Regions from separate parts of the Homo sapiens genome. Here region 2 is linked to region 1. Evidence: promoter capture Hi-C in 16 types of primary human blood cells and fetal thymus (Javierre and others, 2016). All regions are on one chromosome and are shown on one strand. Each heading gives the region's core, a stretch centred on a gene start or on the middle of the fragment in contact. The rest is flanking DNA. Distances are from core to core; before and after follow the strand shown. Region 1 holds the start of SLAMF7 (SLAM family member 7). Region 2 overlaps LOC105371470 (a long non-coding RNA gene).

Region 1 (3,445 bases), core at 946-3,445:
AAAGAAATTCACACCAAGACACATTATAATCACACTTCTGAAAACTAAAGACAAACAAAAAACTTTTAAAACAGCTAGAGAAAAATGACACATTACCTACAGGGAAAACAACTTAAATGACGGCTGATTTCTCACTGGAAACCATGGAGGGGAGGAGTGTCATGACACTTTTCAAGTGTTGAAAGAAAAAAAACTGTCAACCTAGAATTTTATACCCAGGAATGAGGGTTAAATCAAGACATTCTCAGGTGAAGGAAAACTAAGATAATTTGTTATCAGCAGGCTTATCATAAAAGAATTCCTAAAGAATATCTTGAAACAGAAAGAAATGATTAAAGAAGAAAACTTGAAGGCTGGGTGTGGTGGCTCATACCTGTAATCCCAGCACTTTGGGAGGCCAAAGTTGGTGGATCACCTGAGGTCAGGAGTTTGAGACTAGCCTGGCCAACATGGCGAAACCTGATCTCTACTAAAAGTACAAAAAGTAGGTGGGCATGGTGGCATGAGCCTGTAGTCCCAGCTACTCAGGAGGCTGAGGCAGGAGAATCGCTTGAACCCAGGAGGCGGAGATTGCAGTGAGCCAAGATCATGCCACTACACTCCAGCCTGTATGACAGAGCAAGACTTCGTCCAAAAAAAAATAAAAAGAAGGAAACTTGAAACATTAGAAATAAAGAAATAACAATGAAAAGAGTTAAAATATGGGTAAATGTAATGGATTGTCCTTCTCCTCTTGAGTGTTCTGAATTATGTTCAACAATTGAAGCAAAACTTATAATCTTACCGATATGGTTCTCAATGAATATAGACAATATATTTAAGACAAGTATAAAGATAGACTAATAAAGAAACCTAATATAGGTAAGTTTTCTATACCTAGTTCAACTGGTAAAATGTCAACACTGATAGGTAGATCAAAAGTTATGTATGTAAAATGCAATATGTACAGCAACCAGTAAAAAAACTCTTCAAAAAGATACATTATAGATAAATCAAAATGGAATTATAAAAAATATTCCAGTAACACACAGGATGGCCAGGAAAGTGAAACAGAGGAACAAAATAAACAAACAAAAGCCCAGAAGAACAAAGAGAAAATAATAACATGGCAAACTTAAGCTCTGATATATAAATAATTACATTATGTAAGTCAGTTAAATAGAATAGATAGCTCCAGAATATACCCACACAAGTATAAGTGCTGATTTTTGATAAAGATACAAAAGTAATTCAATGTAGGAAAGATCATCTTTTCCATCACATGGTAGTAGAACAATTGAACACCCACAGGCAGAAGAAAAAAAAACACGCACATTGTAATCATACTTCTGAAAACCAAAGGCAAACAAAAAACTTTTAAAACAGCTAGAGAAAAATGACACATTACCTATAGGGAAAACAATTTAAATGATGGCTGATTTCTCACTGGAAACCATGGAGGGGAGGAGTGTCATGACACTTTTCAAGTGTCGAAAGCAAAAAAAAACTGTCAACCATATTACCTGATATGGTTCTCAATGAATATAGACAATATATTTAGGTGAATCTCAACCTAAACTTCACACCTTACATTAAAACAGGATCATACATTTAAATGTAAAACATAAAACTATAAAACTTTCAGGAGAAAACCTTTGGACCCTAGTGTGGGTAGAAAAAAAACTGATAAGTTGAATTTCATCAAAATTAAAATTTTTGCTCTGCCAAAGACCCCGTTAAGAAGATGAAAAGACAGGCTACAGACCAAGAGAAAATATTTGTAAACCACATATCTGACAAATGACTCTTATACTTGGAACATATAAGGAATTGTCAAAGCTCAACAGTAAAAAAAATAAAGAATCTGATTATAAAATGGACAAAAGACATAAATAGACATTTCACCAAGGAGGATATGGATATATAGATGGCAAATAAGCACATGAAAAGATGTTCAACATTATTAGGCTTTAGGGAAATGCAAATTAAAGCCACAATGAGGTATCACTACAGCACCTATTAAAACAGCTAAAATATAAAATGGGAATATACCAAATGCTGATGAAGATGGGGAGCAAATAGATCTCTCATAGATTGCTGGTGGCAAGGTAAAATGCTCTATTCACTCTGAAAATAATTTAGCAATTACTCAATCTCACATGTCTGCGGCGTGACCCCTCCTGCTTCTTTAAATATCAGCTGGGGAAGAGGTCTGAGTAATACCTAAGAGGGAAGTGGCTTCATTTCAGTGGCTGACTTCCAGAGAGCAATATGGCTGGTTCCCCAACATGCCTCACCCTCATCTATATCCTTTGGCAGCTCACAGGTGAGTCCGGCCGGATTCTCTTCCACTCTCCTGTCTACCCCATCCTGAATAGTTCCAGGTTTCTTGTTCCACTCTGGGCCTCTGGCTCAACTCGGGAGGCTCTGTGTTCTCATCTAACATTTGCTTTTTATCAATCTCTGATCTCTGATTCTCAGGTCAGGAAGAGACTAGAGAGAGGGGGAAAAATGGCTCTGGGAACTGACTCCCCTGTTGACTGTCCCAGGGATGAAGGAGCTGAAAGAAGTGGTGCTGGGTATCAGAGACCATTTTTCTAATCCAGGTTCTGCCATGAGTTAGATAAGGAATGTTAAAGTTTTCCTGGGCCTCAGAAACTTTATCTTCTAGCCTTCTCTCCTTTTGAGGGCAACTTTAAGAACAAGATGATACTATACAGGTATGTATTTATTTACTTATAAATGTATTTATAAAATTGGTTATGCATAACAGTAATATAAATGGAAAGAATCACTTGAATTTTCTTTCCTTACTCAAGCAATGTAATCAGTCTCTACTTAGAGAACCAACTCATACCATAGGCACTTTATGTTTAATCCCATGGAGGACAGAGGACAGTTCTCCACCTGTCACTGGTATTCTAGTCTTTGAAGATTTTTCTATCCTAAGGGCTCTCAGAAAGGATCAGGAGCCCTATAAGTGAGAAATATCTCTTCTGTCATCAATCTCATGGAGTACTACCATGAGGTCCCCCTATAAGGACTTCACATAACTGCTTCATTATGTGTATCTGAGCCTGCCTGGAGTGATCTGCCCAAGACCACGCAGGCAGCTGGTGCCCCCAATATTTTCCCCTGCATCGCTAAGTGGTCAGCATCAGCAGACTCTTACCCACTTTGAATTCATCAGAAGTTTGTATTTTTGAGAGGTACCTGGGTCTAACCAGGTGGTTCTGGAATAGGCCCTCACTTTAAAAAAAAAAAACAAAAAAAAAACTCCCTGAACGGAAATGATGAGCAGAAATAGAACTTGAGGGAGATAAGGTGGAGGGGTTGGGGAAAATTATAGAGACTTTGAAAGCTACAGGTGTCCATCTGAAATCAGTCAGCGAAAGAGCACAAGTATGAAAAACTGCCATGCAGGTCCCCCTCTGCCCTCCTCCAGAGGCAGCCTGTGTAGTGTACC
Region 2 (3,470 bases), core at 284-2,783, 39 kb after region 1:
CCTCCTGTGTGAGTCCCTCCAGCCTCCCCACCAGCTCCAGTGGGTCTTCTCCTCCCACTGCCATGACCACACAGACCAACACCCACCCACCCCAGACTCCCACCCTCCCAATGGTGTTAGCCCCCTTGCCCCAGGGTCTGAAGGGAACCAGGACTTCTTCTTCCACCCTCCCTGTCAACCCCAGAGCTGCTCAGGCCCCTGGGCAGACTGAGGAGCCTGGTACATATGCAGAAGTGAGGCACTGAGATAGGGTGGGAGCTGCTGTTACTGAATGGGTTCTTGACCATGCAGGTAAAAGTTAGAGCACTGTCCCCAAGCCTCAAGGAGACACTGAGGACAGACCCTCCACAGGACACAACAACAGTCTGGGGTCCCAGGGGTGTCCAGCTGTAAGTCACACTGCCTCCTCTGCTCTCTGCCACACATGTCAATGGCATATGAGAGTGACAATGCAGCATCCATCCTCACTAATCCTGGAGCTCAGTGTGACATGAGGCCAGGCCAGCTGCTCTGTGTGTGCGAAAGGGAATAAACTGAGGACTGGGAAACTGCTCTGGGCCTCCACTTCACAGGACAGAAAATGCACGGCATTAGTGCCCAAACCTTGCATCACCTTGAATACACAGAAGGAACAGCAGAGGCAGGATCTGCCCACATCTGTTCCAGAACTTTGTGCTATGTAAGGCCATGTCACTTAACATCTCAGTTGATTTCCAGAACAACTCCATGAACTAAACAGGGAAGATGTTATATCAACTCCATTTCACAGGCTCAGAATGCTTAGATAACCTGCCCAAAGTCTCATCTAGTTAAGTGGTAAAGCCAAAATCCAAATCCAGTGAATTTGAGCCCAAAACTGAGTTTCCCAACCCTGCCCTGAATAGATAAAGGAATGCAAGTACGGAGCTGTGTTGTAATTACATATTTTCCCCGTAGGGGGCTCTGCAGCATACACTGAGCTTCCAGGTGTTGATCAAGAGTCCCAGAGGAGGTGGCTGTGTGCCTTTGAGGTTTCTCCCACTCCCTTGCACTCCCTTGGACCTGCTCCCCGTCTCCTCTTGCCCCAGGGCCATGACCCAGATATTCTTAAGTGCTCGAGGTGTCCACATTGCCATTATTTGTCCACCAGCCTCCCAGGCCAGACCCAGGAGGATTTGGGGGAGGCGAGAAGAGCAGCTGCAGACACCAGGCCTGAAACACTCAACAAAGTCATATTGCATAGAACAAGGCTACTCTGCTACTCAGCCTCAGCCCTGTGGCCCACACGACTGCAGCCCCAGGGGAAACTCAACTGTGCAAAGTAGGACCACACAGGCCCAGCGTGTCCCCCAGGAGAAGGCAGCCTGGACATCCCCACAGGTGGGTACCTTGCTGCTGGCTCTCCCCACTGTGTCTCCTATATATCAGGCCCTGGGATGCAAGCCACTTGACTTCTATTGGCCCTTTTCTCATCCAATAAATATGGCGACATACCAGAAACCCAGAGAATGAAGGCACAGGGTACAGCATCAGAATACCTGAGTTCGATTCCCAAATCTGCCACTTTCTAGCTCCATGTCATAGGTGTCTTATTTTCCCTTTCTAAGATTCCGTTTCCTTCCTAGAAATGAAAACTCCTGACCTGCATACTGGCAGGGCTGTTGTGAGGCTGCAGTGATGGGAAACACCCTGTGAAGGATGGAGCCTGACCATTAGCACTGCCTTGCCATTGGGATGTCAACCCAGAGAGAGAAGGGCTCTCTGGAAGACCCCACCCCTGATGGATTGGCACAACCCTATCCTCTACCCAGACTCCACCTGACACCATACCACACTAAGTAAGTGCTATCAGAATGACTATCAGCGAGGCCAAAGGGCCTCTCCCACCAGTTTTGGGCCCACCCTACCCTAGTGAGCAACCCAACCCCAAGTCCCAGCAACCCACTTCCATTGTGCCCTGGTCCTGTTGTGAGAAGCAGGCCATAGCCAGCCCAGGCCTGATTTATGGCAGACACGCCTTCTCCCCAGCCATGTGGACCTGACCAGAGAGCAGCCCCATCAACTCCACTAAAAGAGTGCCTTCGTCTAATAGGAAGATTTCCTATCACAGAATCCAAGAAAAATGTCTGTGAAGGTTCTCTGCTGGCCTTCCCATGTCCATCCTCACTCACCACCTGTCCCCCTCGCTCATTGCAGGGGAACGGCTCTGCCATAGCACCCTGAGACCTTGCACATCTCTCTCAGGCAAAGGTTTCAACCTCTGCTAAACTGGGTCTTGGCAAAATGCCTTGTGATCCACCCAGAACACGAGAGTTCAGGTGGCCTGTGAGGCACAGCCTTGAAGCCATCTCCCCTGGGAGGCTGTCATGAGACTATTTCCCCTGGCTCCTGGGGTTCTGATGCAGTATGGGACTTCTTGTCCTCAGAACACAGCTGCGGTCTCTAAGTCCTCTTTGCTGAAGGTAGAATTGGCCCCTCGGCATCTGGGTATTCCACAGCTCCCACTGCAGCCATCTGGCCCCTTTTGTTTCAATGTCATCTTTTCTGGTGTGGGACAAGTGCCCAGGGATCTGGAACCCTTGGCTACTCTTCCATTCGTTATATGAATAATCAACTGTCTGAATCTCAAAGTGGCTCAGCGTAGCATCTTTCATAGGCCTTTCTCGGTGCTGTGTGTGCTTGATACCCACCCCATTGCTTCCTTTGTAGTTTCTCCTGCTAAGATTTTTTAAATTTCTTTAAGGAATTTGATAAGAGCATCCCTCTGCATCTGCATAGGCCTTTCCAAAGCACTTTCATATGTTTTCACTCTCACAAAAAGGTATTGTTCCCATTTTAGTAATGAGGAAGCTCCAGGCCACAAGAGGAGGTTGTGGAAAAACTCAGTTCTCAGGGCCTGAAATCCCATTCTCTGACCACTACTGTCCCAAGAACTCTGCTTCAGGTGGTCTAGGGTAGGTCCTGAGGCTTGACATTTTTCAGGAGATTCTCTCTGGCAACTCTAACTTACATATCTTTAAAAACAAAAAACAAAACAGTGCGCATAAATTAGTCTTGCAAATTGCGAATGTTACTAAAGCTGTAGAAATGACTGAGAGGCTGACACTGCCTCACCCACTGCTGCCATCTCTAAGACACCCACTATAGACTTGCAGATGGTACTCCCAGGTGAGGGTGCTGCAGGAAATCCTCAGGTTAACATGGGCTCGGTAGGGCCCTGTATCCTCCCAGCTCAGGTTGCTGATCTACACGCAGGGATAAACCTGGACTCATGACACTCAAGCGACCCGAGGACCAGGTTTCCGCTTGGTAAAAGATGTCTGGGCCCCCAGCTTCTCCCATGGTTACTGTGGTGATCTCCATGGGGACCGAACGCGATATCCAGGAGATGGTCGCCACCTCCTGTCCAGAGCGATATCCAGGAGATGGTCGCCACCTCCTGTCCAGAGCGATATCCAGGAGATGGTCGCCACCTCCTGTCCAGAGCGTCT

What was found. The method cuts DNA at HindIII sites, captures the fragments that hold promoters and counts their contacts. A CHiCAGO score of 5 or more calls a contact.
Region 2: a fragment that was not itself captured here is called in contact with the fragment with the promoter of SLAMF7 in region 1 in 1 of 17 cell types (total B cells); the score reaches 7.3 in total B cells.

The regions. Positions count from the first base shown.
Region 1 is chr1:160,737,052-160,740,496 of GRCh38, forward strand. SLAMF7 (SLAM family member 7) reads left to right here and starts at 2,196. Exons shown (of 7, transcript NM_021181.5): 1 at 2,196-2,305. The coding sequence starts at 2,251. It overlaps LOC124904440 (a long non-coding RNA gene), which reads right to left and starts at 2,108. Exons shown (of 2, transcript XR_007066687.1): 1 at 2,032-2,108. The HindIII fragment of the contact is 11,353 bases long and covers 1-3,445 here.
Region 2 is chr1:160,776,730-160,780,199 of GRCh38, forward strand. The region is part of intron 1 of LOC105371470 (a long non-coding RNA gene); the gene reads right to left. Among named protein-coding and RNA genes, the nearest start is that of LY9, 18 kb to the right of the region's middle. RefSeq lists enhancers at 684-733, 1,054-1,123. The HindIII fragment of the contact is 4,063 bases long and covers 1-3,470 here.